3 separate regions of the Homo sapiens genome follow, and all the other regions are linked to region 1. Evidence: promoter capture Hi-C in 16 types of primary human blood cells and fetal thymus (Javierre and others, 2016). All regions are on one chromosome and are shown on one strand. The core of a region is centred on a gene start or on the middle of the fragment in contact, and the rest is flanking DNA. Distances in the headings are between cores, read along the strand shown.

Region 1 (3,275 bases), core at 776-3,275:
ATATTGTTTTATTCATTTCAAAATCTGAACCTAGGCTGGGTGCGGTGGCTCATGCCTGTAATCCCAGCATTTTGGGAGGCCAAGATGGGCGGCTCACTTGAGGTCAGGAGTTCGAGACCAGGGTGGCCAACATGGTGAAAACCCCGTCTCTAGTAAAAGTAAAAAAAATTAGCCAGGCATGGTGGCCGGTGCCTGTAATCCCAGCTACCTGGGAGGCTGAGGCAGGAGAATTGCTTGAACCTGGGAGGTGGAGGGTGCAGTGAGCCGAGATCATGCCACTGTACTCCAGCCTGGGTGACAGAGCAAGACTCTGTCTCTAAAAACAACAACAAAAACGGAAGATAAAGAGCTTTGACAACTTAAGTTTAAAAAAGGAGACAGCTATGTATTTTATAGCTTAGCTTCTACCTAGTACATCTTCATAAAAAAAACTCATTGCCTTTAAAATTACCCCTTTTCAAACAAAATACATGTGTACTTGGAGATGCAAACTCACAGTAAGAACACAAGATCATTTTAACAAGCACTAAACTGAGGCTCAGGGAAGTTAAATAACAAGGCTATGGATACTTGGTCAGGTTCAGAAAAGTTTGCACCCCAAGTTCAAGGTAAAGAAAGGCTTCACTGTTCTGAAGTCCCTAGTATGGCAAAGTTACATGGCCATCAGAGAGCTAATTAAAAAAACTATGTTTAAATTATTTCCATGTTTCAGAGTTCTCCACCTCTAGACTCAGAATGCAGTTTAAAGATGTGACCTGAGACATTTTTGTTTTCCCTTGAGAGGAAATGCACAGTTGGAAGTTCACAAAAACACCTCTTCAAAAAACAGTAATACTGTTTTCATCTTTATAAAAAGCTTTCATCACAACTCTTTGGTGGCACTTCATGCCTTCAAGTACTCATTTTGGTGATCGTTGGCTCCCTTTTAGTCTGTCTCACAAGCCAGGTTATAAATGGTTTGAAATCAGGGGCCTTGTTTTTACTTTGAACCCATCGCAGAGCCTGGCACAGCGTGGCAGAGTGTGCGCCCAATAAATACTTGAGTGGAATTACACTGAAAAACAGGAAGAAGTAAAGCCATCTTCCATCTGCCAAAGACTGTGATGTTGCTGTATTGGTAATTTTCATTCTTAGAAAGCTTTAATGTGAATGAAATTATTCCTTACTGTGCATTTGAAAATTCCACTGAAAACAGTTTTAAAAATTAAGCATGCCCTCTTAGAGGCAGGGGGCACAGTTCTGGACAGATGAGAAAAGTGACAGTGACATCTCTGCATTGTTCAGAGAAGAAAGGTCAACAAAGAGTAGAAATAGAACACTCAACCCACCCTGCATTCTTTCCCTAGAACATTCTCTGTGTGTCCCTTATCATTTAAGCTTTTCATATGTAGTTTTCTTGAAACTGACCATATGCTCTTTTGGGGTGAGGGGAGGAGACGGAAGAAGGAGATGGAGAAGGTCTGAGATGATTTTTTTCGACAGCAGCGTCCACTTAGGCCCTTGGGGAGGCCGGGTCACGGGGCCTCCTTGCACCAGTGGTCTACAACGTCTTGCCTGCGGTTTACAACCGCTCTTTTAAAATAATTTCCCTTTGGGACGGCCCCCGGCTTCTTCCTGCCACCCCCATCCCCACCCCGCCCCCATCCTCATCCTTAGAGGCCCCAGGCAAACGCTTCGGATTCCCGGTTAGGTCTCAGAGTAAACAGCACGCTTGGAGGATTACAATCGACCCGAGGCCAATTCGACCCTTTCCCTTTGCCGCCCTCAATTGACCCTTGAAGCAGCCCCTGCTCTCCCTTCAAATGGAAAACCCACAGACACACACACAAACAAAAACCCCAAGTCTTCCTTTCGGTTGCTACCCGCAATGACGTTTCCCCCCTCGGGTCCCGCCCCTCCAGGGGGCTTGGAATTTTGGGATTGGCCGAGAGGCTGTGGCGACAAGGCCCGGATTGGACAGCATGGCGCTGACTGACAGCGGGGGCGGCCGCCGCGCCCTCCCTCTCTCCCCGGTGTGCAAATGTGTGTGTGCGGTGTTATGCCGGACAAGAGGGAGGTGACCGTGGCGGCGGCGGCGGCGGCTCTGTTTATTGTCCCTCTCGGTGTGTGTGTGTGAGGAAATCGGGGCTGCAGCGAGGCTAAGGCTGCCTTTGAAGCAGCGGCGGCGACCGGGACGACTACTCTGGCGACTCGAGTGGCTGGCCTTCGCGGAGTGTGAGAAGGACAAGGCACCTCTGCGTCCTCGCCACGTCCGAGCGCCTCGGGCTCCCCGGCCGCCCTCGCGGCTCGCACGCCCGGGCTTCAGCCCGGCCTGCAGCGGCGCCCGCGGGCGGGCGAGAAGGCAACGCCGCCGCTCGGCCGCCGCCGGTCGCTCCCTGCTTTCTCCTCAGCCGCCGCGCTAGGCCCGGGCGACGCGGACGCCGCGCCTCGAGTTTGAGGGCAGCCGGCGGCGCGGCCTCCTCAGCGGGCTCGGCTGGACGTCCGCTCCGGATCTTCGCGATGGGGCGCGGGGGTCGGCGCGGCTAGGAGTGCGGCGAGTGGAGCGGTGGGTGCGGAGCGGCGGGGCCCAGCGGCCCGCAGGGAGGCGGGAGCGGCGGCTGCGGCCTCAGGGCCTGTGAGCTGGAGGCACTCGCCATGGCCAAGTCGGGTGGCTGCGGCGCGGGAGCCGGCGTGGGCGGCGGCAACGGGGCACTGACCTGGGTGGTAAGTGGCTGGTCCCCGGGACGGGCGGCTGCATTGTTCCGGGCCCGCGGCGGGGGCGGAATTCCGAACGGGCGGGGGAGGGGAAAGGGAGGGAAATCCCGTCCCCCGAACGGGCGCTCCATAGGGGCCTGTGCTTGCAGAATCCTCCAGCCCGCTCCCCGCGCCTTTTCTTTCTTTCTTTCTCTGTACGTCTCTGGAAGTCCTGACTGCCAGAGCGTAATGTGTACTTGAAACTTTGGGGGGACAAAACCGCGAACGTAACATACAGCCCCCGCTTCCTCTCTTTTCTTTTTAACCAGACTCTTCCGGGGCAGCCGAACCTGAAATGGTGGGGATGGCGATAATGCAAGTGTGTCTGTGTGGGGCAGCATTTTCTCCAAATGTAGTTCAAGAAAACCCTGGGAAAAGGGGTGTGTGTGTGTGTGTATTCTAAATGCAGCTCTTTCTGGGGCTTTAATCTCAAAGAAGAATGCATTGGGATTTCTACAGCAACTTGCACTTCAATTTGGAAAGCCTCATTCAATGCGCTCAATTGAGAGCGCATTGGGGATGACTTTCACAGCAGTTAATAC
Region 2 (3,275 bases), core at 295-2,794, 2.7 Mb before region 1:
GAGATGATGTTTTGAAAAGAGGTACTTGATGACCCTTCTTTATAAACTAGTTAGGCTATTTTACAAATTGAGAAAGGGGAATAAGCATTGGTCTGTTCGTCTTCGTAAGACTTAATCCTTGCTCCATAGTATTTTGACTGATTGTACGAAATAGGTTCGGGAATATCCTAACTTTTCAGAGGTAGAAAGGTGGTGAAAATTCTAAATATGATTTACTTCAGGAGGCAATATGGAATAAAGAGCCTACCATATAGGCCTTGATTCAAACTTCAGTTTTGTCACATACTGCTGTGGTGAGGTGAATTTACCTCACCTCTTTGAGCCTCAATTTCCCCATTTATCATGGTGCTAATACCTTTCTTGCCAAGTTTGGTGTGGACTTGAGATAATGTGTGTACCATACCTTTTATGCAGTTCCTGGCATAAATGTGAATTCCCTTCTCTCTGTTTAGGTTGCCATTGTTCTGTATTTGTATTAAACTTTTGCCTTCACAGTTTAGTAAGGTGGCATCTTAGTGATGTAGTCTAACCCTATCATTCTGTATAGGTGGGAAAATTTTGATCTAGAGAGGTAAAGCGAACTAAACTATAATCAGGGTTGCAAATCCTAGACTAGAATCTGTGTTTCTGAATCCTGGGAAAGTGTTCTTTTTGACATAGTTATGCCTTGTCCATATTCTTAGGATAACCAGAATCCCTTTTGTATTGCCTCTTTGAATGTTGTATTAAGACCATAGACTTCTGACAGCTTACTTAGGTTCACATCTCACCTTTGCCACTGATTAGCTGTGTAGCTATAGGTAAGGTATTTAACTTTTCTAAGACTTTCTTCATAACAGTACTTAGCTAAGTGGTAGAAAAATGCATGTGAAAGCACTAGTGACTGGCATATGGTAAGTGATCAATAAATGGCAGATATAAAGATGATGAAATATGAAAATGGCAGATATAAAGATGATGAAATATGACAGGATAATCATATTTATTCCTAGAAAAAAGACCAGTCTGATATCAGCAGATATGTTTTCTAGTATCCCAAACTTTGACATACGTAGCATATGAACAACTGAGAGTTCTCTTGGTGTTGATTGCCATGATGAAGACTGAAATTTAAGATCTTCTAAAATAATTCTAATAAATAATGTTTGAATCTTTTTTTTCCTGTGTTTCTCCCCAAGCTTCAGGTAGTACTGTTCTTATTTCTACCTACTTTATCTGACAAATTGTGCCCTTTCTTTTTTATCATTCTTGGAAATTTCATTGTTCTCAAAAATAATTGTCAATAGTGTTTACCTCAATCTTTTCTAATTCGCTTTTTATATTTAAGTAAACCTCTAAGGAGAAACAAAATTTAATTGCCAAATATATAAAATGTTTGCATGAGTACATATAGATACATTTGCCTATAAATGTGCTTTATTTAACACCCCACTATATTGTGATGAGATGATGAATGTGAAATTACTTTCTATAATATTAAAAATAAAATCTAAAGGGTGTTTACTAATTCATAACATAGAACTAACTGTGCCCACAAATGTTCAAGGATACTAAGAATTGGAATTCTGTAAATTACGTGGTAACTGCTTGGCTTTGTTCTTTCTGATGAGTGGTTCTCAAATTGGAATATGACTTAAAATCACCTGGGTGCTTATTCAGAGTGCACTTTGCAGTTTTTCACCCCAGATATTCTGATTTGCATAGATCTGCAGTGGAAGCTAGGAATCAGTATTTTTTAACAGAATGCAGAGGAATTCTAAGGCAGTGGTCCACACCTTTGTCAAACACTGCCCTCAGTCATCTCCAGCTTCTTAGAATGCCCTTGGAAAAGCAAAATTTATTTATGGAATGTCCCTGTGGAATACATTTATTACTGATTTTCATCACTGAGAGAAGTCCACTTAAGCTTGTCTTTGGACAGTGTTTTGATGTTTGTTAAGTTTTGAAAGTTCAGTTTCTGCTAGACTATTTAAAATACTATCTAGTCTTTGGTAATTTTAATTTTTGATAACAATATTCTGCTCATGGCACTTATTTTTTAAAGATTAATGCTAACAAAGATTTATTATTTTAAGAGCATTTAAATTATGATAAATAAGACTCAGTATAATGTTAAGTTTCTTCAAATGTTAAATGATATAACTAGCTTGGTCTAGTTTGTCAAATAGAATAATAGCCAGTTACACTTTTACCATTTATCTAGAAAATCAGACTTCATGGGCCAGCTGATTTGGATACACACACACAGCCATTTCATTGCAACAAAAGTGTTTAAAACTGAATCTTTATTATGAGACTGATTACCACAGCTCCCTTTACTTCTCTGTAGAAATACATTTTATAAAGGATGCTTGCGTAGCAATAACACCAAAGGCAACACATAGCCTACTTTTTACTTTGCTAACAGTTTTCCTTTCATTATATTAATAAATATAATGGGATATCTGCCTTGTATTGTTTCCTTTCTATGATCTCATTTTCCCTGGACCTGTAGCTTTTACTCTCCAGAAGTCTGGTTTGTACAGACTAATATGATAAGTATTAATATTCTCATGCTTGTGATTTCATATTAATTTTTGCAGGGATAGTAATTAAAATTTTAATTTTCCATTTTATAACAAATTTAAATGACAGTTATTTTAAAACAATAAAAGTTGATACATATATGTGGTGCTAGCACATTGTGTGTTTTAATATATGGCTATTTCTTACATAACTTTTAGGACAGATAAGCAATTTGATGCTGCTTTTCCGCGTATTCTAAGTAATGTTTATAGTGTATAGAATAAATATATAGAATAATGGTATAAAACTTGAAAAATCCTTTTATGCCATTGTTTTCTTACATAATATATGCAACTTTTGATTTATAAATAAAAAGGTAGCATATCAATAGGTAAACCAGTCTGACTACTCATATTGTCTTAAAAATGACTAGCTATCATGTTGTATAAAATGTGACATTATTGTATCAATATACCCCCTTCCATGTAAAGTACTTTTGTAAGCCTTCTGAGGGGTTCCTAGATTTGTAGGAGTGTAAGATTTTGTAAAAGATTCATTGGAGAGGGGAAAATATTAATAGCTCAGGCTCTAAAATCCAAGTCCTGGTTCATACTAATTAAGTGATCCTAGCTAAGCTTCTTTACCTTTCCAGGTCCCAGTTTTCTCATCTGTGAGATGAGTTTGATAAGATTTTGTACCTCATAGGGTAGTCTTGAGAATTAAATGGGATAATGTTTGTAAACATTTAGCATAATGCTAAGTAGTTCACT
Region 3 (3,275 bases), core at 377-2,876, 2.6 Mb before region 1:
GGAGTTCAAGTGCAGCCTAAGCGACATGGTGAAACCCCATCACTAAAAAAAATAAAAAATTTTTCTAATCAACTCCACAACCTTTTACATATTAAACATACAATGCTCAAAAAAGATTCTTCAAGTTTGTTTACATGTCTAACTTAAAATTTTCTAGTAAATGTAAGGGCTAGTACTGTTCCTGTACCCCTAAAGGTAATTTACCTACATTCCCACAGGAACCACTGAAAGAACCCCAACTTGGAGTACTGCAACCCAAATGTTCCAAGAACATCCATAATTAAATCTTCCCAAGACACATATACCTTAAACACCTTCTCATGGAATGTCATGAAATTCTTGAACCCACTTTCCACCCCCTAAGCCCTATCTCTGTCCCATCTTCCTCCTTTTATTAAGTTCCCGGAAAAAAACAGCAATAGAAGGACACAGGGACACACACACACCTGATTAAGGAAACTTCCCTTAGGCTGCCATGCCCCATTCTGCATAAGTAGAGAATGAATCTATGTTGACAGAGGGAAGAGAACCTAACTAAAAAGGGGAAAGGTCAAAGAAGGGAGAAAGGAATTACTTTAGTTGATAGAGAAAGTGAAAAATCAAATTTATCAGGTGCAGGTTCCTATGGGCCATCATCTGAGAATATAATCATGTCTGAAAATTTGTCCGGAACATGGCAATAAGCAAAGATTGCTGTTATTACTGCTACATTAACAAAAAAAAGGAAAATAATGTAAATAAAACTATGTATAAGCATGTAACCTGCATTTTTTCGCTGGGTTCACAGTTTCTTGAGGAAAACAGAGACCCTACAAAGTTAATTAAAAGTTGCTGCCAAATGAAAATCAAGCTTCTATAAAGATCACAGAAAATACAAAATAAACCAATAGGAAAACAGATTTTGCTAAATGAACCTCAATTGGTGTATCTATTATTCACTTACTCAATATGGGCAAATACCATCGTGGGCTGTACAAAGCAGTAAAACATCAAAATGTGAAACTAAGCTTCAACGTATGAACCAAATAAACACGAAATTAAAAAAAAAAAAAAACTGGCTTCCATACATTTTATTCTGGAATTTAAACAGACAAAACAATTTAGGGAAAAAAAAAAAAACCTTCCTACTTGCTGACTCCACTTTTTTACTCTCCATTGCTTCCATTCCTTCCTTTGATGAAGTTTCCAATAATCACATTGTTAGATTTGACCATGACCTTCCACCCAGCTGCTGACGTACAAAAACTGGAATTATCCCTATTTCCTCTTTTTTTTTTTTTTGAGACGAAGTCTCACTCTGTGGCCCAAGCTGGAGTGCAGTGGCGCAACCTCGGCTCACTGCAACCGCTGCCTTCCAGGCTCAAATTCTCATTCCTCAGCCTCCTGAGTAGCTGGGACTACAGGCGTGTGCCACCATGCCTGGCTAAATTTTTTGTATTTTAGTAGAGATGGATTTTCACCATGTTGCCCAGGGTGGTCTCAAACTCCTGAGCTCATGCGATCTGCCTGCCTCGGCCTCCCAAAGCACTGGGATTAAGGGCATGAGCCACGGTGCCCACTGTTTCCTCCCTTTCTCTCACCATCCTTATTCAATGCAACCACAGGTCCTGTCAATTTCTCCTCATGACGCTGTATATTTCTTTCCATCTGTCTATTACCATCTTGGGCTAAGATACAAACATATTTGGCCTGGACTACTGCTCCTATCCCTTAACCTGTCTCCCTTCTTCCACTTATGACCTGACCCCTCTACAATGCATGCTACCACTGTAGCGAGGATAATAAACACATAAATTATGTTACTGCCCTCTTTAAAAGATTCTAAAGGCATTTGATGCCATTAGAAAAAATCCAAATGCTTTATTATCACAGCCAGCCTTTGAGGACTTGCAGCCTCTGCAATATCTAGGCATTTAGTGACTACCTACTTTCCCAATATCTTTCCTTATGGATCCCCTCCACACTCTGACCCACGTTCAAGTTAAATATTTTAAGTATTTGCTACCTGATGGCCAAGCACACTCTGCCTAGCTTCCTCTCATCCCTCAGATTCCAATTCAAATGACACTTCCTCATAAAGCTCTTCACTGACTAATCTCTTCACCATCTACCACATGACATTATTTTCTTCATGTTTATCACAATCTGTAAAAATGTGTGTGTGTATGTGTGTGTGCCCACGCACGTGTCTGTGTAGGGGGAAAAGGGGGTGTTAATTGTTTTTTCTACCACTAGATAAGCTTTATTGGGAGCAGGAATTTTGTTTGTCCTATGTACTACTGTTCCCTAGGGTCCAGAACAATATGGGACATATACCAGACACTCAACAAGTCTTTGTTTAATCAATACTCAAAAGGTGGCATGGTCTACAGCACTGGACTGGAAATGAAATTACCTAGGTTCTAACCAGACTTGACTCTACCAGCAACTAGCTGTGTGGCCTTGGGTACAACACAAGATTGGAGTGGCTTATGAGTAACTGGAAGGTAAGCAAGTGAAGAGAGCAAGTATGAAGACTTTTTTCCCAAATTTCCTTGTCTAAATTCAAAAAGTGTAGATATATGGAAATCTTTAACCTCTCTCATTCTCAGTCTCCTCATCCGTATGAGATTACTTTAAAGGTCACTTCAAGTTCAGAAGTACCATAATTAGGCTGGGTGCGGTGGCTCACACCTGTAATCCCAGCACTTTGGGAGGCCAAGTCAGGCAGATCACTTGAGGTCAGGAGTTCCAGACCAGCATGGCGAACACGGCGAAACCTCATCTCTACTAAAAATACAAAAATTAGCCGGCCGTGGTGGCGGGCGCCCGTAATCCCAGCTACTCAGGAGGCTGCGGTGGGAGAATTGCTTGAACCCAGTAGGCGGAGGCTACAGTGAGCCGAGATAGCGCCACTGCACTCCAGCCTGGGCGACAGTGAGACTCCGTTTCAGTAAAATAAAAAAAAAAGATACCATAAATTATATGGGCCTAAACTTGAACCTTCCTTACTCACCCCTCACTTATACTCTACCCCTTCTACCCTCAAGAACCAAATCATGGTAGTCATCCTGAAACCAAGCATCGCACAGTGCACCTTACTATCTAAACCTTTGCTCATAGGGCTGCCTCTTCTCCAGCTCCAACCACTGGAAATTCCATCCCTCAAAGCCCAGATCAACTGCTAACTGCTTCATAACCACCTAGTCCAAAATGAATATGATCATTATGTTCCAGAACTCCTCTATGCTTCAAATTAGAGTACTCCCTGATCTACCACTACCTGCTGGACTAGT

What was found. Contacts are between HindIII fragments. The CHiCAGO score rates a contact against its expected background, and 5 or more counts as called.
Region 2: a fragment that was not itself captured here is called in contact with the fragment with the promoter of TOP2B in region 1 in 3 of 17 cell types (fetal thymus, total CD8 T cells and naive CD4 T cells); the score reaches 6.0 in fetal thymus.
Region 3: a fragment that was not itself captured here is called in contact with the fragment with the promoter of TOP2B in region 1 in 1 of 17 cell types (activated CD4 T cells); the score reaches 6.3 in activated CD4 T cells.

What each region holds. Positions count from the first base shown.
Region 1 is chr3:25,663,657-25,666,931 of GRCh38, reverse strand. It overlaps TOP2B (DNA topoisomerase II beta), which reads left to right and starts at 2,025. Exons shown (of 36, transcript NM_001330700.2): 1 at 2,025-2,703. The coding sequence starts at 2,635. MIR4442 (microRNA 4442) reads left to right here and starts at 1,993; the gene lies at 1,993-2,059. RefSeq lists enhancers at 1,725-2,288, 3,246-3,275 and silencers at 2,456-2,815, 2,770-2,958. The HindIII fragment of the contact is 4,216 bases long and covers 1,380-3,275 here.
Region 2 is chr3:28,343,559-28,346,833 of GRCh38, reverse strand. All of the region lies in intron 1 of AZI2 (5-azacytidine induced 2), which reads left to right. Among named protein-coding and RNA genes, the nearest start is that of ZCWPW2, 3.5 kb to the left of the region's middle. The HindIII fragment of the contact is 728 bases long and covers 1,181-1,908 here.
Region 3 is chr3:28,242,732-28,246,006 of GRCh38, reverse strand. The region is part of intron 1 of CMC1 (C-X9-C motif containing 1); the gene reads right to left. Among named protein-coding and RNA genes, the nearest start is that of CMC1, 2.8 kb to the right of the region's middle. The HindIII fragment of the contact is 1,233 bases long and covers 1,010-2,242 here.